7 separate regions of the Homo sapiens genome follow, and regions 1, 2, 3, 5, 6 and 7 are each linked to region 4. The links are contacts of gene promoters, found by promoter capture Hi-C in blood cells and fetal thymus (Javierre and others, 2016). All regions are on one chromosome and are shown on one strand. The core of a region is centred on a gene start or on the middle of the fragment in contact, and the rest is flanking DNA. Distances in the headings are between cores, read along the strand shown. Region 1 overlaps FER1L5 (fer-1 like family member 5). Region 2 holds the start of CNNM3 (cyclin and CBS domain divalent metal cation transport mediator 3). Region 3 overlaps KANSL3 (KAT8 regulatory NSL complex subunit 3). Region 4 holds the start of NCAPH (non-SMC condensin I complex subunit H). Region 5 overlaps LMAN2L (lectin, mannose binding 2 like). Region 6 has its middle 40 kb from the start of GPAT2. Region 7 has its middle 6.2 kb from the start of LMAN2L.

Region 1 (2,947 bases), core at 365-2,864, 330 kb before region 4:
TCCTGGAAGGAGAGAGAGTGAGAAGGGTCGGGCGCAGGACGAGGGGTGTAGGAAGTGGGCTCGAGGCTTTGCTTGCCTTCTATCTCTTCTCCGGTGGACGAGATCTGGTTGAGGGACAGGCTGGCAGTCCCAATCTCATCCGGGCAGTCCTTCTTGCGGCTAGAGAGAAACACACTCCTCAGGCTGAGCCCCCGGCCCAGCTCTCATTTCTTCCTTCCCTGTGTGCTTCAGCCTCCACCAGGTTGCTCACCAGTCCAAGACTCTGAACTTGATGTAGCTGGAGAGGCAGGGTAGCTGTGGAGGGAAGGAGAGAGGTGCGGTGGGTACACATTGGGATGGTCTGGCCCTCGTGGAGATTTTAAGAACAGGTAGGGAGTCGCGGGTCTGGGAGCAAGTCCTGGCTCAGTTACCAGTGAGCCACTTCATCATAGAAAAGCTGGATTTTGAACCAAGCGAATCGAGCTTTGGCTTTAGGGCCTCTTGTTTTCTGGGGGTTTGCTTTGTTTTGTTTCAGACAGGGTGCTGCTCTGTCACCTAGACTGGAGTGCAGTGGCATGATCATAGCTCACTACAGCCTACACCTCTCAGGCTCAAACGATCCTCCCGCCTCAGCCTCCTGAGTAGCTGGGACTACAGGCACCTGCCATCAGGCCCAGGTAATTAAAAACAATTTTTTTTTTTTTGTAGAGACAGGTGCCTTACTATGTTGCCCAAGCTGGTCTCGAACTCCTGGGCAAAAGCAATCCTCCTGCGTAGGGCTCTCAAAATGTTGGGATTAGAGGTGTGAGCCACCTCGCCCAGCTGGGCCTCCCATTTGAATAGGCCCCTTGCAAGGTCCTGAGAGGGGCCTGGAACTTGTCACATGATCGTTTTGTATTTTTGTCTTTAAAATGGCCCTCTGGACAAGCATGGTGGCTCACACCTGTAATCCCAGCACTTTGGGGGGCTGAAGCGGGCAGATCACTTGAGCAGCCTGGGCAACATGATGAAATCCTCTCTCTACAAAAAATACAAAAATTAGCTGGGTGTGGTGGCACTCACCTATAGTCCCAGCTACTCAGGAGGCTGAGGTGGGAGGATTGCTTGAGCCCGTGAGGTTGAGGCTACAGTGAACCATGATCGTGCCACTGCACTCCAACCTGGGTGACAGAGTGAGACCTTGTTTCAAAAAAGAAAAAAAAGTCCCCTAATTGCATAAGCTTCAGGCCCCTCTGACACCTGAGTCTGCCCTGACTGTGGGCTGGTAGATATTACTGTCCTCATACAGCCCCTCGCAGTCTGAATGCACATTCACCAAACCATCTCATGGAGAGGCCGTGGGCCTAGAATGTCTTCATCATGTCTAGCCATCAACTTTTTAAACAGCAGTATATCTGTCTCCTCAAAGAATAAATAATAAACCAGGCATGGTGGCACATGCCTGTAATCCCAGCACTTTGGGAGGCCGAGGCGGGCAGATCACCTGAGGTCAGGAGTTCAAGATCAGCCTGGCCAACATGGAGAAACCCTGTCTCTACTAAAAATACAAAATTAGCCGGGTGTGGTGGCGCATGCCTGTAATCCCAGCTACTCGGGAGGCTGAGGCAGGAGAATCACTTGAACCCGGGAAGAGGAGGTTGCAGTGAGCTGAGATCGTGCCATTGCACTCCAGCCTAGGCAACAAGAGCGAAACTCCGTCTCAAAAAAAAAAAAAAAAAGAATAAATAATAATAGCTGCCTCTTTAGGAGGTTTCTGTTGCCCCTGGCTTGTGCTAAACAAATTCCATAGACCAGCTGAGTGGGCTCTCCTAAAAACCTCATGAACCAGGTGCTATTATTATTCCCATTTTCATATGGGAAAGCTGAGATCAGAGAGGTTGAGTTCCTGAAGTTCTCATGCTACATGCAGTTGCCAAAACCACTCTGCTGTAACCCCTTGAGGACTGTGATTGTCCCTATAAAGAGATGGGGAATCAGGCCTAGAGAGGCAGAGGGACTTGCTCAAGGTCACATAGTAAGGGGTGGAGTCAGGATTCCTACCCAAGCTTCTGTGTCCCATCTCCACTCTGCATTATGGTTTCCTCAATTATTTTTAAAAAGAAAGAAAGAAAAGAGGCCAGATGCGGTGGCTAATGCCTGTAATCCCAGTACTTGGGAGGCTGAAGTGGGAGGATCACTTGAGGCCAGGAGTTCAAGACCAGCCTGGACAACATATTGAGACCCCCATCTCTACCAAAAATACAAAAAATCAGCTGGGCATGGTGGCTCATGCATGTAGTCCCAGCTACTCAGGAGGCTGAGGCACAAGAATTGCTTGAACCCAGGAGGTGGAGGTTGCAGTGAGCTGAGATTGCGTCACTGCAGTCTAGCCTGGGCAACAGAGCAAGACTGTCTAAAAAAAAAAAATAAATAAATAAAAGAAAAAAATCCATGTGTCCATGTGTAAAATAGAGCTGCTGGGTTGAGGCCAGAGTGGGACCCCAAATCCTCAATCCTCTCAGCTGGGGCCTCTTCTCCTTACAGCAGTTCTTGGGATGTGGCTGGGAACCTCCCAGCTTTCCATTTTCTTCATCCCATTCTCCCTGGGTCCTGACAGCTAAGGGGCCAAGGAGAAGAGGAAAGGGCTTTCCAGGTGAGCAGCTAGTCAGTAAGAAAGGAGGAAATTGCCCAGGTTAAGGAAGGACATTGGAAGGGGAGAGATCGGCACCAGAAGGCATCCAGGTCTTCCAAAGTTAGGAGTCCTCCAAGTTCAGATTTATGGCGGAACCACCTTTCCATCCATCCTGCTAATAATTCTCCTCCTGCTTCTTGGTTCCTCATCTAGTGTGCTGCCTCCCCTTCTGCCCTGGGGCCCTCGGACTGACCATTGGTACAGGCCAGTTTTCTGCAGTGCCCTGGGCTCTGCTCCCCTTCTGACCACCTGGCCTCAGATGCTGCCATCTGTGTGGCTGGCTGTTCTGCCTCTTCA
Region 2 (3,073 bases), core at 558-3,057, 480 kb before region 4:
GGTGAAAGCAAAGTGTTAAGTTTCCCTGACTTTACCGCAGATAAGGGATTGACACCTAAATACCCTTATCTGCAGTAACGCCAGGGACCTTAAGAATGCTCTGAAGGAAACATTACAGGTCCAGTCAATTTGATATTACATGTGTGCACACAACAATATCCCAGATACCTGGAGACTACCATCTTTTCTATGTTCTTCTAGTTTCTATCCAAAAATTTGGACCTGCTACAAAGTCAAGCACACAGAAACACTCTGGGAGAGGGAAAGAGCTGGGGGATTAGAGGACAAGCGGACATACCCCTCCCTGCAAATGGGGGGGGGGGGCTATCCTGACGCGGGGGTTAAAGTGTTCGCTGTCTAAAGGATTCCTCCCACTCTGATCGATGGCCTTTAAGTATTTCAAAAGGTCATTCCAAGCTGCAAGGCCAATACCGTCTTGAAAAGGGACCTTAGAGGTCTCACTGCTCTCCACAGGGGTGGGACCCTTTCCAGAAGGCTTCCATAACTCTCCACCCCTTTTCAGGGAGAGGGCACTCGCACGGGCGTCCCCTGCACCATGCCCGGGCCGTTACCTCGCTTGAATTCCTCCAGGACAGCGTCCAGCTTGGTGTCGTTGAAGACGAAGTGGAGCGGATGGTTGTAGAAACGAGTGATGGTGCTGAGCGGCGTGCAGTCTTCGGGATCCACGAAGGCCAAGTCCTTGAGGTAGAGCATGTCCACGATGTTGGAGCGCTCCTCCTCGTACACCGGGATGCGCGTGTGGCCGCTCTGCATGATGCTGGCCAGGACGCCGAAGTCCAGCACGGTGCTGGCGTCCAGCATGAAGCAGTCTTCGAGGGGCGTGAGCACGTCCTCCACGGTCCGGCAGCGCAGCACGCCCTTGCTGAGATCGCTGTAGGGGTCGCCGCCGCCGCGCGCCAGCTCCAGCACCCGCTCCCGCAGCCGCCCGGGCCGCGCCGCCAGCTCCAGCAGCTGCCCCACGGGCAGCGCGACGGGCAGAGTGAGCAGGACGGCCAGGCGGCTGAGGCCGAGCGCTCGCGGCGCCAGCGCCAGCGTCCAGCGCCCGCTCACGGCGGCCGGCACCACCTCTCCCACCAGGAACACGAGCCCCGCGCTGCCCAACACGGCGGGCACCGCACGCTGGCCGGCCGCGCGGTACAGCAGCACCGCCAGCGCCGCCTGCGCCAGGCTGGCCAGCAGCAGCAGCGCGCCCAAGGCGCAGCCGGCCCAGCGCCGCGCGGGCTCCAAACGCCGCGCCGCCGCACGCTCCGCCTCCGAGCCGCTCTCGCGCAGCACCTGCACCTCGGCAGGCGCCAGCGCCAGCGCGCTCAGCTGCAGGCCTCGCGCCAGCGCTGCCAGCGCCAGCAGCCCGGCCGCCCCCAGGCCCAGAGCCCAGGGCGGCGCCGCCTCCTCAGCCGCCCCGCCACCCGGCTCCACGCGCACCGCCAGCAGCGCCGAGTGCGGGCGCACGGCCTCGGCCCGCAGGCGCAAGCGCAGCAGCGCGCGCCACTCGCCCGCGGGGGAGGCCGCCTCCTCCCGGCAGCCCGCCCCCTCCGGGGCCACCCAGGACCAAGAGCTGTTGGCGAAGCCCGGGCCGAAGAGGCGCAGGAGGAAGGTGGCGTCCGGCGTGTCCCGCGCCGCCCCTCCGCGTACCCAACCCGCGCCCGCCGCTCCATCCTCCTCCAGGCAGAAGCCCAGCACTCGCGGGCCCGGCGCGGCCTCCCCCGCGGCGTTGCCCAGGCAGAGCGCGGCGAACAACCAGCCTAACCGACCCGCCGCAGCTACCGCCGCCGCCATCGCCTGCTGCCCCCTCTCGGCCTCTCGCGCAGCCTACCCCGCTCGCCCCGCGCCTCCCCGGGCCAATCGTTACGGCTCTTCGCGCCTCCTCGGCCAATAGGCGGTGGGCGGGGGCGGGCCCCAGGGTCGGACTAGGCTGCGCCGGGGAGTAAACAAGTGGCGGCCAGGGGCGGGCCGGGGGCGTGGGGCTCCGGGCCCCGCCGAGTCTGCTGCGGCTCCGGATGCGCGGGGTGGCAGTGGCCGGGAGGACGCGGGGCGGCGGGCAGGGCCTCCCAAGCCCGGCTGTCCTCGGCCCGTGCGCGGCGCCCGGAGTCCCACTCCTCCCGATGCTGTCCCCCGCGCCCGGAGGCCGAGCCAATTCTCTGGGAAGTTCCCGGCTTGGGAGCGGAGCGGCCGGTCGGAAGAACCTCGGGTGCTGGCGCGCCTGAAGTTGCAGACCAGACTGAAATGTGCGAGACATGTGCCTTTTTCTTAGGAAAGGCCCCAGGTACCAGAAAGGTTTTCAGCGCGCCGACCTACGGGGCTAAGAGGGCTGAAATAAGAACCAGTGACTGAGCGCCGGGAGGTTTAAGGTTTATGGAAGATGTTCATCGCGCCGTACCCTACTAGAGGTTTGGGGACGTGGGACACAGCCCCTGCGTTCCCGCCGCGGACCCCGTGATAAATACACAGACACACAAAATCACTACCGCCTTGAATCTGGACAGCTACCTCAGGTGGTTAATATCTAACAGGAGCAGAGTGGAGCTCAGAAAGACTCAGCGTGGGTGCTGGGTTCCGGCGCGACCAGCCTGATACCTAGGTCAGCATCTCAGCCACACAAGCAGGCGGCAGTTCTGTCAGGAATTACTACATCTGGTGATTCCACTTCTCATAGCTCACCGCTGGGAGAATAATTCCTCAGGATTAACAAGATCTATTCCAGAGGATCCTCACTGCTGAAGCGATTTTAGAAGACAGTGTGGTCTGTTGACAGTATGGAATATTCTTTACCCATCAGATATGATCTGTATGTGATTGGAAGGAAATAAACCAACTGCTAACAACACTTCTCTATAGATGTTCAGATTCAGTAATTTTTGTATTTTTCTCTACACTTTTGTTTTTTCAAATTTCCTAGCACAAGAAGACTTTGACTTACTGCACATGTCATTTTAAATGACCTTTATAAAGACTCTATAGAAACAATTTGCTATGTCATGAAAGTAACAATCAAAAAAAGTATGCACATTGTGGCCACAAAGTAAAACTTGTGTGGAAGGTAATGTGCAAAAAA
Region 3 (3,040 bases), core at 224-2,723, 280 kb before region 4:
GGTCTTGAACTCCTGATCTCGTGATCCACCCACCTTGGCCTCCCAAAGTGCTGGGATTACAGACTCCTGGCCAAAGTTTGAAATTTTTATGTAGTTACATTTCTCTTTCTTCCTTTTATGTCTTCTTTTTCTTCCATCTGAAATTTGATGTAGAATGATATGTAGGGATCAGATTTTCTTTTTCCAGTTGTGGTTGTCTCAGCCCTACATTTAGGGACTTTATCCAGACTGATTTGAAATGCTACCTTGATCCCATTCCAGGGTCTCATTTGGGTGTAGCACCCAGGTAATTTTTTATTTTTATTTTTATTTTTTTTGAGACAAGGCCTCACTGTCACTGAAGCTTTGAGTGCAGTGGCATGATCACGGCTCACTGCAGCCTCAACCTCCTGGGCTCAAGCGATTCTCCCACCTCAGGCTCCCGAGTAGCTGGGGCTACAGGCACGCACCACCATGCCCAGCTAATTTTTGTATTTTTTTTAGAGATGGGGTTTTGCCATTTGCACAGACTGGTCTTGAATTCCTGGACTCAAGCGATCCACTCCACTTGGCCTCCCAAAGTGCTGGGATTATAGGCGTGAAGCACTGCGCCTGGCCACCATCAGCTTTTTTTTAAGGCAGGGAGAATAGGAAAACACATATTAATAGAGCATCTTCAATTGCCTTTCTTTTGGTATCTTTAGGAAGGTCACTAGCCAGAGTTAGAGCATCTGAGTAATTAAGATTGCTGGGAGTGGGGTGAAGGGGGACAATAATAAGCTCCATATCACTAAACTGGGTGTGATGAGGTGGAGATAAGAACAGTAGGATAGATGTCTGCAACACACAAAGCCTCAGTAAGTAATAGGTAAGCAATAAGCAATAAGGTAGATGTGTGAATACCAGTGCCGTATGCTGGGATGATAACATATTAGCTTATATGGAGCAGGCCTCTCAAAAATAAATTTGCTAATTGTGTGGCATATAGAAAAAATACAAAAAATATATATGGAAAAGAGAGATTAGTGTGGGGTAGAATATTGAGGAGTGGAAGAATAGCCTCTTTATTGGTTATATTTCTGCTATATTTTTGTTCTTAAGCCTAGTTTAAATAGAATTCTTACCTCAGTCTGAGATTTTAGTACATTAAAATGCTTGCTGATCCTGTCTGCCTTTTTGTGTGAAATATAAAACTTATGAAATTCAAATATGTCGTCTGTTCAGTGGTGCTGTGCGTTTATTTATGATTGGAATAATTTTAGCTACTAAGTAAGTAATTAGCTTTGCTAGCCTGAAAGACTTTTTTCATGACTAGTCTTGACTTGTACTGTGTATATTATTGTGTGTATGTGTGTATTATTAATACAAGTGTGTGCTGTGACGATTTGATTTGGTAGGATTGAGACCAGAAGAATCTAGGTCTTGTGTTTTAGGTCAGTGGTCTTAGACTAAGCTACTTCGTTTTACTGTTCCCTAGCAGAGACATAAAACTATGGCATAATCTTCTTTATATGGTGTACATACATGGGGAGCGTCCCCAGGGTTTGACTATAATTCCTCAGAGTTTCCCTTATAGGACTGGCTGGACAATGGCCCAGAACAAGCTATTCAACAAGATCCTCAAAGCCCTGCAGTCTGACCGGCTTGCCCGCTTGGCCAACGAAGGGGTAAGACACCAGCAATCCGCCCACAGTGGGCTCTTCGTAGTTCAGGCCTCACTGGCTGACTGACTTGTCCCCCTGCTTGTTAACCAGGTAGTCCTCATGTTTTATTACTTCCACTTACATCCTTCAGGCTTGTAATGAGCCAGTGCTGCGCCGTGTTGCTGTGGACAAGTGTGCAAGGAGAGTGCGGCAGGCTCTGGCAAGTGTGAGCTGGGATACCAAGCTGATCCAGTGGCTGCACACCACCCTTGTGGAGACCTTGAGTCTGCCCATGCTGGCAGCCTACCTGGATGCTTTGCAGACGCTGAAGGGGAAGGTAAGGCTGTGATTGGGGTCTGCCCTGTCCTAGGGATAGCCATCCTCCCCTGTGGGTTCAGGATGTGGGGTTAGGCAAAGTAATTATCTGGTCGGTCTGGAGTGCATGGCCAAAACTAATGGGTTTGGTACTAAAATTGGGAGACAGGGTATCATTTCACATTTGTGTCTGGTGTAAACGTTTTCAGCCCTGCTGGCTCCAGGATGAGGTATGGGGCCTGAAAACCAGAGTATACATTTAGCCTTCCTAGCCTTGCAGCTTGTGGTTTGAGTCATGGCTGAATTGAATTATCATGAAGGAGACGAAGGGTTTACCAGGGAAGAGTTTGTTGAGAAAGGTGACAGAAGCAGACCCTTGGTGCTCGGAGCACTGGGAGATTGCAGAGCAGGAACGTGCCGTGATGCCTTCAATTCTGCTCCCCAGGGCATGAGCCTTTAGTAGCAACACTTAGACTTTTATAATTCAGTACAAACATATCATTATAGTTCCCTGCTTTCTTACTTAGTATTGCACAAAGTTAAACTGTTTTTCTTGGTGATTCCAGTGATTGCATCAGGCTATCGTCAATGTGGTAGAATGCGGATGCTGGAGGCAGATTGCCTGGCTGATCTCAGCTTTGTTACTGATTAGCTGTGTAAGCTTGGACTGGTGTCTCATCTCTAAAATGTGGCTGATAATAATAGCTATCTAGGATTTTTATGAAAATTAAATTAGTTAATTCAGGTAGGGGGCTTAACACAAAATTGGGCACATAGTAAGCAGTGAGCCCACAGTAATTATTATTACTAATATTAACAGTTATTTAAGTAGTACCCTCATAGGTTCTTGAAATATTTGGGGTGTTTTGCTCCAATACAAAATGGCCTCACGGCCGGGCATAGTAGCTCATGCCTATTATCCTAGCACTTCGGGAGGCTGAGGCAGGAGGATCGCTTTAGCTCAGGAGTTTGAGACCAGCCTGAGCAACATAGCAAGACCTTGTCTCTACTAAAAATAAAATAATTAGCCAGGCATGGTGGCACACGTCTGTAGTCCCAGCTAGTTAGGAGGCTGGTGGGAGGAGGCTGTAGTGAGTTCAGTC
Region 4 (2,981 bases), core at 240-2,739:
TAAGGAGAACCTTGTCTAAGAGAGAAACTAAACTTGGAATTAGAGGCATGCTTTAATTCTCCAAATCTTCTTTCCGTGGTTTCTCTCCTTGCCTTTGATATTATGCATCCATTCATTCAACCGATGGTTACTGAGCTCAAAGACACTTCCTATGTCTACTTCCTCATTTCCCACTCATTTTTCAACCCACTCTGGTCTGGTTCCTATTCCAACTTCATGAGAACTATCTTTTCGTGATCATCTATAACTTCCATGTTGCCTAAACCCTATGGTCATTTTCTGGCCTTTCTCTTGGAATCCAGCAGCATTTGAAACAGCTGACAGTCCCTTCCTTGTTGAAACACTCTTGGCTTCTTCCTATACCACTGTCTTTTGAGTTTTTCCAGCTCATCCTTCTCTATCCAGCTTCTAAACGTTGGTCCTAGATGTGCAGGGCCTTCCTAGTGTTCTCACCTGTTCCCATGGTTTTATGGTCTAATGGTCTATATGATAATGGTATCCAAATTTATTTCTCAATCCATGGGTCACTTCCCTGAGTGGTCCATATAACTCCCCTGAGAGCCAAATTCTCACCTAAGTGATTATAGATCCCTTCACCTGAGTCTCTCCCGTAAGTCACACATACCATGTCCAAAATGTAACTCAATTTCCAAATCTCTTACCCAAGGCCTCCAGACCCTGCCTACGTGTCAGGCCTCACTAAGCTTGGTCACAATGTTCTGGTCAGGTCCTAGGCCAGGCCAGGCTCTTCCCTGCCTCATTTTTGTACTTGCTCCTTCTGCCTGAAACACGTTCCCTAGTATCTGCCTAAAGATCTTCCCTGAACCCCTGGCGGAGCCACCCCTACTCTGCTATACTCAATCACAGCACTCAGCCTCATGTGTAATTATTTCTTTTGTTTACTGTCTGTCTCCCCAACTCCAACAGTATAGAGATATTATCAATTTTGTTCGCCCAACGGGAGAGCTCAGTACTTTTGAATAGATGCAAAAATAAATGCATGCATGCTAAGCATACAACGGTAACCACATCGCTTCCAAAGCCCTGAAAATAACGTCTATTCCAGGAAAACCACCATTTTAATGGAGAGACACCGAGCACGCTTTAGGAGCCCAAGGAGGAGGCCGCCCCACCGCCCGCCCGGGAACTGAGGAGTGTGAGGCAGGGCCCGCGCGCTCTCCGACTCCGGCCGAAGCCGCTTTCTGATTGGCTGAGCGCACAAGGTCCGCCCGCCCCGCGCCGGCCCTCCCCTCCCCCCGCACCGGCCTCTGCTGTCAGCCGCAGGGCCAAGACCCGAGCTGAGCATATCCTCTCTCCCCGCCCAGGCCAGCCCGCCAGCCCTGCCCGCCCGAAGTACTGCTTCGCTAGGGGCCCTTCCCGCCGCGCCTCCCGACCGCCCGGCTCACCTGGGCCGGGAGGTCCCATCTTTCCTTGGCGTCTCCTGAGCTGGTTTTAAATCGCGCGCGTCGAGACGCCTGAGCGCCGTAACGGCCGCGTGACGTCGCCGGCGGGCCGGGCCAGCAGCGCGCCTGCGCAGACCACCTCGGGCCTCCGCGGGCGGCGTCAGAGTGAGTTTTGGGTTGAGGACCCCGTCTGATTGGGCTTCTTGGGGTCGGTGGACCCCCTGAAATAGTATGAAAACCCCCTCCTTCGAGGACTAGGTGCAGGACTGGGCTTGGGAACCCAGCGTCGAGCAGGGTGAGCAAGGCCCGTCTTTCGTGGAATTTACTTTCTTTTTTTTTTTTTTTTGGGACGAAGTCTAGCTCTTGTCCCCCAGACTGGAGTGCAGTGGCGCGATCTTGGCTCACTGCAACCTCCGCCTCCTGGGTTAAAGCGATTCTCCTGCCTCAGCCTCCCGAGTAGCTGGGATTACAGGCGCCTGCCACCACGCCTGGCCAATTTTTGTGTTTTTAGTAGAGACGGGGTTTCACCATGTTGGCCAGGCTGGTCTCGAACTCCTGACCTCAGGTGATCCGCCCACCTCGGCCTCCCGAAGTGCTGGGATTACAGGCGTGAGCCACCGCGCTCAGCCCGTGGAATTTACTTTATAATGGGGAGGCAGATGATCGAGAAAACGAGGTTTATTTCCCTTAGAGATCTGTGCTGTGTGGGCAGCAAAACGCTGAAAACCTCCGGGAAGAGGGACGGAGGGGAGCGGGAGCCTACGTGGGAATGAGGAGCGGTCCAGGTGGGGAAGAACTGATGCAGAAATGCTATGTATACATTAAATATAGTACAAAATGTACATTTAATATAGTGTAAGATGAAGGCCATCGTTTTATTCAGATTCTTGTGAATAGCTTCCTGTGAACACCCCCCACCCTTCAAAAAATAAATAAAGGTCGAAAAAGCGAAATAAGCATAAAATGCCATCTGTCCCCTCAGTTTCATCTAACCCTAAGGATTGAATTATGGGAGTAAAGGCCAGGGTGATTCCCTGGAATATCCCCAGCACATCCTAGAATTTCTTGTAACTCTCATATCTGGCATCTTTTACAGTGTTTCTCTTCAAGGGCACTGTTGGCATTCAGGGTGAAACAATCCTTGGCATGATAGGATGTTTGCCCTCTTTGTGGGCTCTTAAGCCCCCGTAACATCATTTGCCCACTAAATGCCATCAGTGCTGTCGCTCATTTTGGCAATCAAAAAGTGCCACCCTTTGTTGAAAACCACTTTTTTTTTTTTTTTTTTTGAGACAGAGTCTTGCTTTGTTGCCCAGGCTGGAGTGCAATGGCACGATCTCAGCTCACTGCAACCTCCACCTCCCAAGTTCAAGCGATTCTCCTGCCTCAGCCTCCTGAATAGCTGGGATTACAGGCGCCCACCACCACACCCAGCTAATTTTTGTATTTTTAGTAGAGATGGGGTTTCACCATGTTGGTCAGGCTGGTCTCGAACTCCTGACCTCAGGTGATCCACCCGCCTTGGCCTCTCAAAGTGTTAGGATTATAGGCATGAGCCACTGCGCCTGGCTGAAAACC
Region 5 (2,868 bases), core at 196-2,695, 390 kb before region 4:
AACAGTGAAGTTGGAATGCTCACACTTCCTGATTTCAAAACTTACTACAAAGCTACAATAATAAAGACAGTGTGCTACTGGCATCTGGGTAGACATACAGATCAATGGAATAGAACTGAGAGTCTGGAAATAAAACGTCACATTTAATCAATTAATTTTCTTTTTCTTTCTTTTTTTTTTTTGAGACAGAGTCTCGCTCTGTCTCCCAGGCTGGAGTGCAGTGGCACGATCTCGGCTCACTGCAAGCTCTGCCTCCTGGGTTCACGCCATTCTCCTGCCTCAGCCTCCCGAGTAGCTGGGACTACAGGTGCCTGCCACCACGCCTGGCTATTTTTTTTTTTAATATATATGTTTTTAGTAGAGATGGGGTTTCACCATATTAGCCAGGATGGTCTCGATCTCCTGATCTCGTGATCCACCCGCGTCGGCCTCCCAGTGTGCTGGGATTACAGGCGTGAGCCACCGTGCCCGGTCTAATCAATTAATTTTCCACAAGATAATTCAATGGGGAAAGAATCATCTTTTCAACAACTAGTTATCCACGTGTAAAATAATGAAGTTATTCCCTATTTCACACCACACAGAAAATTTAACTCGAAATGGATGAAAGATCTAAATGTAAAAATTAAAACTATAAAACTTTTAGAAAAAAAAAATATCGGATTGATTCTTCTTGACTTTGGATCAGGCAGTTGTTAGATGTGACACCAAAAGAAAAAGCAACGAAAGAAAAGGATAAATTGAACTTCATCAAAATTGAAACCTTACGTGTTTCATAGGACATCATCAAGGAAATGTAAAGAACCTACAGAATGGGAAAAGATATATGCAAATCATATCTTATTAGAGATTTGTTTGAAACGTAAAGAACTATTACAACTCAATAGTAAGACAACCAAATTAGAAAATGGGCAAAAGATCTTAATAGGTATTTCTCTAGAAGAGATATACAAGTGGCCAAGAAGCTTGAAAAGAGGCTGAGCATCATCAGCCATCAGGGACATGCAAATTAAAACCATAAGACACTACTTTACACCCGCTAGAATGGCTAAAATAAAAAAGATTAGAAGTGTTGGCAAGGATATGGAGTAATTGGAACCCTCATAGACTGCTGGTGGGAATGTAAAATGGTGTAGTTGCTTTGGAAAAGTTTGACATTTCTTCAAATGACTAAACATAGACTTTACATGATCTAGCAATTCCACTCATAGGTGTGTACCTAAGAGAAATGAAAACATCTACACAAAACTTTTTTTTTTTTGAGATGGAGTCTTGCTCTGTTGCCCAGTATGAAGTGCAGTGGCGTGATCTCAGCTCACTGCAACCTCTGCCTCCTGGGCTCAAGTGATTCCCCTGCTTCAGACTTCCAAGCAGCTGGGATTACAGGCGCCTGCCACCACGCCTGGCTAATTTTTACATTTTTAGTAGATACGGGTTTTGCCATGTTGGCCAGGCTAGTCTCAAACTCCTGACCTCAAGTTATCCGCCCGCCTTGGCCTCCCAAAGTGCTGGGATTATAGGCATGAGCCACTGCACCCGGCCTACACAAAAACTTTTATATGAATGTTCATAGCAGCATTATTCATAATAGCCAAGAAATGGATACAACTTAAATGTCCATCAACTGATTAGAGCAGGGGTCCCCAACCTGTTAGGAACCAGGCTGCACAGCAGGTGAATGGTGGGCGAGCAAGTGAAGCATTATCTGTATTTACAGCTGCTCCCCATTGCTCTCATTACTGCCTGAGCTCCGCCTCCTCTCAGATCAGTGGTGGCATTAGATTCTCATAGGAGCAGGAGCCCTCTTATGAACTGAGCATGCGAGGGATCTAGTTTTCTCCTTAGGAGAATTTAATGCCTGATGATCTGTCACTGTCTCCCATCACCCCCAGATGGGACTATCTAGTTGCAGGAAAACAAGCTTAGGGTTCCCGCTGATTTCTACATCATGGTGAGCTGTATAATTATTTCATTATATATTATAACGTGATAATAATAGAAATAAAGTACACAGGCCGGGTGCGGTGGCTCACGCCTGTAATCCCAACACTTTGGGAGGCCAAGGTGGGCGGATCACGAGGTCAGGAGATTGAGGCCATTCTGGCTAACACGATGAAACCCCGTCTCTACTAAAAATACAAAAAAATTAGCCGGGCGTGGTGGCGGCCACCTATGGTCCCAGCTACTCGGGAGGCTGAGGCAGGAGAATGGCGTGAACCTGGCAGGCGGAGCTTGCAGTGAGCCAAGATCGCGCCACTGGATTCCAGCCTGGGCAACAGAGTGAGACTCCGTCTCAAAAAAAAAAGAAAGAAAGTACACAATAAATGTAATGTGCTTGAATCATCCCGAAACCACCCCCCCTCCAACTCCCCGGTTCATGGAAAAATTGTCTTCCAGGAAACCAGTCCCTGGTGCCAAAAAGGTTGAGGACTACTGGATTAGAGGATAAACAAAATGTGATATATTGTTATAATGGAAATATCAGCAATGAAAATAAGTATCACTGGGTGTGGTGGCTCGTGCCTATAATCCCAACACTTTGGGAGGCCAAGGTGGAAGGATTGCTTGAGTCTAGGAGTTTTAGATCAGCTTGGGCAACATAGGGAGACCCCATCTTTACAAAAAACAAAAAAAATTAGCTGGTCCCAGCTACTTTGCAGGCTGAGGCAGGAGGATTGCTTGAGTCCAGGAGGTCAAGGCTGTAGTGAGCTATGATTGCCACTGCACTGTAGCCTGGGCGATGGAGCAAGACTGTCTCAAAAAAAAAACAAAGTAGGAGTAATTGCCAGGCACAGTGGCTTACACTTGTAATTCTAGCACTTTAGGAGACCAAGGTGAGTGGATCACTTGAGCCCAGGACCTCGAGGT
Region 6 (3,104 bases), core at 406-2,905, 260 kb after region 4:
GGTTAGGAGGGAGGGAGAGATGAACAGATGGAGCATCCTGGATTTTTAGGGCAGTGAAATTACTCTGTGTGATACTATAATGGTGGCTACATGTCATTATACCTCTGTCAAAACCCATAGAAAGCACGCCACCAAGAGTGAATCTTAATGTTAAATATTGACTTTGGTTGATAATGATGTGAATGGGACTTAATTGTAAGAAAAGTACCACTCAGGTGGGCAATGTTGATAGTAGGGGAGGTTGTGTATGTGTGGGACATAGGGTATAAGGAAACTCTCTGTACTTTCTGCTCAATTTTGCTGTGAACCTAAAACAGCTCTGAAAAATAAAATCTATTAACAAAGAAATAAACAATAATGTCTATTAACAACAAGCAAATGTAAACTCTAGATCTGAAAAATACAGAATCTAAAATGAAGTATTCACTTCATAGGGTTGACAACAGATTGGATACAAGCAGAAGAAAGGATCAATAACTCAAAGGCAGGTCAAACTAAGTTCTCCAAGTGGAAGCACGGAAAGAAACTAACAACAACAGAGCAGAGGAAGGGTCAGCAAACTGTGGGCCCATGGACCAAATTTGACCTGCTGCCTGCTATTGTAAATAAAGTTTTATGGATCCCAGACATACCAGACATTGTTTACAGAAAAGCTGAGTAGTTGTGACAGAGACCATATGGCCTGCAAAGCCTATATTAAGTCTTGCCCTTTAGAAAAGTTTGGCAACCCTTGTAATAGAGCATCAAAAGCTATCAAACAATATATTAAATGGCATGTTGTATGTATAACTGGAGTCCCAGAAGGAGAGGAGAATGAGAATGGAGCTTGACTAAATATTTGAAGAGAGAATGACTGAACACATCTTCATAAAACTCATGAAAGACGTCAACCCACAGATTCAAGAATAAAAATAACCCTAAACTACATAAATACAAGAAAGGCTATACCTAGAGATATCATCATCAAGCTAGAAAACAAAGGCAAAAAGATCTTAAAATCATCCAGAAAATACAATCAGGTTACATTTAGGGGAAACACAATAAGAATTGTAGCTGATTTCTCACTAGAAACAAAGGCAGCTAGAAGACAATTGAAGAACCACTTTAAAGGGTCTCAAGGAAAAATTCTGTGAGCTTAGAAGTCTATATCCAATAAAAATGTCATTCAAAAATAAAGGCCAAATTAAGGCATTTTTAGACAAACGAAAGCTTAAGGAATTCATTGCAACACTATAAATAGTACTAAAGGAATTTCTGAGGCCAAAGGGAGAGAATCTCAGATGGAAGCCCAGACTACCCAAAAGAAATAGAAAGGACCAGGAATTGTAAATATGTGGAAAATATAAGAGATTATCTTTTGTTTTTTACTTTAAAAAACACTTTTGGCCATTTAAAGCAAAATAATAAGCATGTGGAAGTAAAATATATAATAACACTAGTGCAACAGGCAGAGAGAGATCAATACAATTACACCGTTGCAAGTTCCTTTGATTATCTGGATGCAAGTGATGGTTACAGGTGTATGCATTTGTAGAAATGTATCAAGCTATAGCTTAGGATTTGTGTACTTCACTATATGTTAATTAGCCTGCACTTTAGTAAAGTACTGTTACCAAAGAAAGAGAATGGACACGACAGAGCTCTGTAGCCAAGTCAGGACTCACAGATGGAACAAATATTTATGTTTGTCACGGGAGAGTCAGGGCCTCCTGCTTGGCAGAGGCTGCTGAGAGCTGAAGATGGGGTTGGCTGGGGCTCAGCCCACCTCCTGCATTGCCGAGGAGGCAGCGTTTTCCTCTGTGACTGACTCCTGCTGGAGCCTTGGCTTTGTGGAGATCTGTGACAGGGCTTGGCCCATGAGATGAAGAGCCCAGAGGCCTGGCCTTCCTGTCCTGAGCCTGGTCCGCTTCTGGGGACCCTCTCCTACGGTGGAGAAAACCAGAATGTCATCCTGGAAGGGACTTCTGATTCAAGTACTTGATGGCTGCCATTTTATAGAGATGGGCTCTGGGGCTCAGAGTGAATACATTCTAGAAACTGGACTGGAAACCAGATCTCCTCTTTATACTGTAGCAGCTGTCTTGGGCCCATTCAAGCTTGTCCTTCCTAGGTCCACAGGTATTCCTCTCTCTGCTCTTTTCTTTAAAATCCTCATGCTACTAATGCTAAATAACTGCTGATAAAACTAATTCATACTAAAGTGTGAGTGACTGATTCCCTGTTAAAGTCTCCCCAAGAAAGGCATGCGTAGTAACCATGTCCAAGAAACCATTCTAATGGTGTGATCCCATTCAGCACCCAGGCTGAGGAGAAATGTTTTGGGATGAAGCAGGCAGAGGTGAGAAAGGGTTGCCAGTCTGGAGCTAGCATGGTGCAGGAGAGAAGGCAGGGTTCTGTCTTTGCCCGAACTCATCGGCTCATCTTGGCCACATTCTCTGACTTCCTTGGGTCTGTTTCTTCTGCTGTTAAATGAAGGCTGGACACTCAGATAGCCCAGGGCCCTTTAGCTCTCATGTCCCAGGCCTGTTCACTTACAGCCTTCTGGAGCTTTTGCTTTACAATAAGCAGTCCTCTGATCATCACTGGCTCTCACAATGTTCTTAGAAGCAGATTAGAGGCTTGGGTGTGTGGGTCTCTGTGTCACAGGTGAGGAAATGGGGCAGAGAGGGCAGGTCAGTGGCCCGGGGCCACTCTGTGGGATGCCACTGCATTCCTCCTCCTCCCCCAGCTGCCTCATGAACGGGGCTAAAGAAGCCTCCCCTTCCTGACAGAACCCACTGCTTCTCTGGTCAGCCCAGGACAGTGGAGCCCTCCCTGGGCAGGGGTGGGGGTGCAGAGCCAGCCCCACTCAAGTCCCCACGGGAAAGTACGGGGCCCCTGCCAGAGGAGCCCTTCCCTTTCATTCCTCCCCAATAGGAGGCCACCCCCAATGCCTTCACCAGCTCCCAAATGCCTCTCACCTCTGCACCTTCGAGCCTTTGCCCAGGAGCCCCCTCTGCCTGGATGTCCTTCCCTTCTTCTCTGCCCAGCACACTCCCACCAAAGCGGCCCCCCAAGGCAGGATGCAGCTCATGCTCCCAGTGGTGGACGGCTGTTCCGATCTT
Region 7 (3,064 bases), core at 440-2,939, 410 kb before region 4:
CCTTGGCGAATCTTATGCCCTAACTCTGTGGGAAGCAAGCATCTGGATCCCCAGAGGCATTGCTGAATTGTGGGAGCTCTGCCACTGCAAGGAGAGCCACCATAGATCTGAGATCTGGTCCTCAGGATACTGGTTTTTATCAATTCCCCTGCAAATAAACAGACTGGGAGGGCTAAGTCACTCTGGCTAAACTAATAACTAAGTGATAAACCCAAATACACACTAATTTCTTAATTTATACAGAAAAATTAAACTGCTAAGAGGATTAGAACGTTAGGCTGGAAGTCTTTATAAATACGCTCAGAAAATAGGCTTTATTTGAATAAAGTTATATGGAGATCTAACACAGGCTGCTTAGAAGCACTCTCTTTCCTGGACAGAACTGATACAACTCTGACTTATTTTCATCCCTTGACTGTTCTTTTTCTAGATTGCAGACGCCTCTCTCTTTAGTTATGACAACATTATATTGGATGGGTCACAATGAACTTTACTAGATTATAGTTAATTACAGTTTTCCTTCCCTCAGGGAAATTTAGAAAACACCACAAATGCATACCCAGCATATTTCCTCATCATCTCCACGGGAGACTTTGAGAAGCTTTTCCTTACGGCAACTCTCACACATCCATGAAGCTGGAGGGAGTGTTGTGCACCCCTATCTCAGCTGCAGCAGTTCTCAACATCCTGATGCTTTTTTTGTTTATCCATCCTACCCTTCTAAACACACACACACGATATTCCTCTAGAGTATCTTAAAGCAAATCTTTAATTCTTATCTTTAAATTCAGGAGTTGGAGCCTCTATGAACTGTTCTTGTCATTTTTTTTTTTTAAGAGATAGGGTCTTTCTCTGTCACCCAGGCTGGAGTGGAGTGGCCTGATCATGGCTCACTACAGCCTTGACCCCCGGGGTAAAATGTCGCAGCCTCCCAAGTAGCTGGGCCTACCGGCGCACACTAGCACACCCAGACAATTTTTTGTATTTTTTGTATTTTTTAGAGACGGGGTCTTACTATGTTGCCCAGGCTGGTGTCAAACTCCTGAATTCAAGTGATCCTCCTGCCTCGGCCTCCAAAGTGCTCGTACTGCAGGTGTGAGCCACTGAGCCCAGCCTGTCCTAATCTTAAAGATTACCACAACAAGTCATTGTGAGGTCAAAATGAGATACTGCATGTGAAAGGGCTGTAGTTCTGAAAACTGGGCTGCGTATTAAATTCTCTGGTGGAGGGTGGGGTGGGCACGATGGCTCATGCCTATAATTCCAACACTTTCGAGGGCCAAGGTAGTAGGATGCCTCGAGCCCGGGAGTTCAAGACCAGCCTGGGCAAATAGCAAGACATTATCTCTACAAAAAATAAAATAATAGCCAGGCATGGTGACACCTGACTGTATTCCAACTACTCAGAAGGCTAAGGCAGGAGGATCCCTTGAGCCCAGGAGTTTGAGCCAGGAGAATCCCTTGAGCCCAGGAGTTTGAGGCTGCAGTTCACACCACTGCACTCTAGCCTGGGTGACAGAACAAGACCCCATCTCTTAAAAGAAAAAAAAAAAGGCCAGGCATGGTGGCTCACGCCTGTAATCCCAGTACTTTGGGACGCTGAAGTGGGCGGATTGCTTGAACCCAGGAGTTCGAGACCAGCCTGGCCAACATGGTGAAACCCCGTCTCTACAAAAAATATAAAATTTAGCTGGGTGTGGTGGCATGTGCCTGTGGTCCCAGCTACTCAGGAGGCTGAGGTGGGAGGATGGCTTGAGCCTGGGAGGCAGAGGTTGCAGTGAGCTGTGATCACACCACTGCCCTCCACTGGGTGATAGAGTGAGACTCTCTCTCAAAAAAAAAAATTAAATTCTCCAGGTTTTATTTTTTTTTCTTCAAAGCTAAATCCCTACACTTGTTGAGTCACGTGTCTGGCAGTAGGGCTCAGGCAAAGGTACCTACCCCAGGATATTTGACTGTGGCTTTCAGGAGTCCAATGTTGAGAAGTCACCGCTGGGAAGTAGCTAGCTAGTTAGTGTTGGAGCTGCTATCCTCTTGTATGCTTCAGTGGCTACCTGGGGAACTGGAGGTACAGTTGGTAGGACCCGGTCAGCTGTGACTATTGGGCTGAAGATGGACCTGACACACTGGATACCTGAGGATGGATGGATGGTTGTACTTGGCCTAGGGAGGGCTGCTTCTGTCCTGGGAGGGGGTGGATCAGAATTGAATGGCAAGGTTTGTAAAAGAAGGGTGAGAAGCAGTGGAAAGAATAGGCCAAGAGGCTGCCCTGGAGCCTCTGTCATGGGGTGAAGGGGCATCAGGCTTCAAGGTGCTCCTGAGTGGAGGTACTTCTTTGGTTGTTGTTGTTTTTAATTTTTTAAAAGGGACAGGGTCTCAACATCTTGCCCAGGCTGATCTTGAACTCCTGGGCTCAAGCGATCCTCCCAAAGTGCTAGAATTACAGGCATGAGCCACTGCGCCCAGCCCTGCTCTTTGGTTTGGAAGACAGGAAGGTAGAGGAATCATGCAGAACTGCTGGAATGCACAACTCACATTGCATATGAATACCCCGGCCCTGAAGTTGTGCAGCCCTAGATCGTGGGAGATAGATGATTCCACAGAGAAAAAGGGGACCACTAGGCAGCTGAAAGGATGGTAGCGCAAGACCTGAGCCAGCTTTCGGAGGTGCCTCTGCGTGTGAGTAAAAGGTGGCGTTGAAGGGGCCATGGCTACTTGTTCTCTTTCCCACTACCACCCCTCAACACCTTGACTGTGTTGAACTTAGCTGAAGCTTGTGCTTCTGAAAAGCACCTACAGTAAAGAAATTCCCCATCCTTTTGTCTTCCTTCCATCTCACTTTGTAGACTCCGTTGTCCAGGCTGGAGTATAGTGGCGCGATCTTGGCTCACTGCAACCTCTGCCTCCCAGGCTCAAGAGATTCTCATATCTCAGCCTCCCAAGTAGCTGGGATTACACACACGTGCCATGATGCCCGGCAAATTTTTTATGTATTTTTAGTAGAGACAGGGTTTCACCATGTTTGTTGGCCAGGCTGGTCTTAAACTCCTGACATATGATCTGT

Evidence for each region. Contacts are between HindIII fragments. The CHiCAGO score rates a contact against its expected background, and 5 or more counts as called.
Region 1: a contact is called between a fragment that was not itself captured here and the fragment with the promoter of NCAPH in region 4, in 1 of 17 cell types (monocytes). The highest score is 5.5, in monocytes.
Region 2: the fragment with the promoter of CNNM3 here is called in contact with the fragment with the promoter of NCAPH in region 4 in 10 of 17 cell types (naive CD8 T cells, naive B cells, neutrophils and 7 more); the score reaches 8.7 in naive CD8 T cells.
Region 3: a fragment that was not itself captured here is called in contact with the fragment with the promoter of NCAPH in region 4 in 3 of 17 cell types (M1 macrophages, M0 macrophages and monocytes); the score reaches 5.9 in M1 macrophages.
Region 5: a contact is called between a fragment that was not itself captured here and the fragment with the promoter of NCAPH in region 4, in 2 of 17 cell types (naive CD8 T cells and naive CD4 T cells). The highest score is 6.0, in naive CD8 T cells.
Region 6: a contact is called between a fragment that was not itself captured here and the fragment with the promoter of NCAPH in region 4, in 2 of 17 cell types (M0 macrophages and M2 macrophages). The highest score is 7.4, in M0 macrophages.
Region 7: a contact is called between a fragment that was not itself captured here and the fragment with the promoter of NCAPH in region 4, in 14 of 17 cell types (neutrophils, naive CD8 T cells, M1 macrophages and 11 more). The highest score is 13.0, in neutrophils.

The regions. Positions count from the first base shown.
Region 1 is chr2:96,666,098-96,669,044 of GRCh38, reverse strand. It overlaps FER1L5 (fer-1 like family member 5), which reads right to left. Exons shown (of 53, transcript NM_001293083.2): 15 at 251-294; 16 at 77-159; 17 at 1-2. Among named protein-coding and RNA genes, the nearest start is that of FER1L5, 25 kb to the right of the region's middle. The HindIII fragment of the contact is 825 bases long and covers 1,202-2,026 here.
Region 2 is chr2:96,815,002-96,818,074 of GRCh38, reverse strand. CNNM3 (cyclin and CBS domain divalent metal cation transport mediator 3) reads right to left here and starts at 1,807. Exons shown (of 8, transcript NM_017623.5): 1 at 573-1,807. The coding sequence starts at 1,797. RefSeq lists silencers at 951-1,060, 1,071-1,210, 1,221-2,200 and an enhancer at 2,541-2,660. The HindIII fragment of the contact is 9,370 bases long and covers 1-3,073 here.
Region 3 is chr2:96,618,278-96,621,317 of GRCh38, reverse strand. It overlaps KANSL3 (KAT8 regulatory NSL complex subunit 3), which reads left to right. Exons shown (of 21, transcript NM_001115016.3): 4 at 1,556-1,646; 5 at 1,774-1,959. Among named protein-coding and RNA genes, the nearest start is that of KANSL3, 19 kb to the left of the region's middle. The HindIII fragment of the contact is 2,255 bases long and covers 346-2,600 here.
Region 4 is chr2:96,334,274-96,337,254 of GRCh38, reverse strand. It overlaps NCAPH (non-SMC condensin I complex subunit H), which reads right to left and starts at 1,489. Exons shown (of 18, transcript NM_015341.5): 1 at 1,407-1,489. The coding sequence starts at 1,425. RefSeq lists enhancers at 333-1,174, 1,175-2,016 and a silencer at 1,095-1,414. The HindIII fragment of the contact is 5,174 bases long and covers 707-2,981 here.
Region 5 is chr2:96,721,413-96,724,280 of GRCh38, reverse strand. All of the region lies in intron 4 of LMAN2L (lectin, mannose binding 2 like), which reads left to right. Among named protein-coding and RNA genes, the nearest start is that of LMAN2L, 17 kb to the left of the region's middle. The HindIII fragment of the contact is 956 bases long and covers 968-1,923 here.
Region 6 is chr2:96,073,070-96,076,173 of GRCh38, reverse strand. No RefSeq gene overlaps it. Among named protein-coding and RNA genes, the nearest start is that of GPAT2, 40 kb to the right of the region's middle. The HindIII fragment of the contact is 887 bases long and covers 1,212-2,098 here.
Region 7 is chr2:96,744,741-96,747,804 of GRCh38, reverse strand. No RefSeq gene overlaps it. Among named protein-coding and RNA genes, the nearest start is that of LMAN2L, 6.2 kb to the right of the region's middle. The HindIII fragment of the contact is 2,172 bases long and covers 604-2,775 here.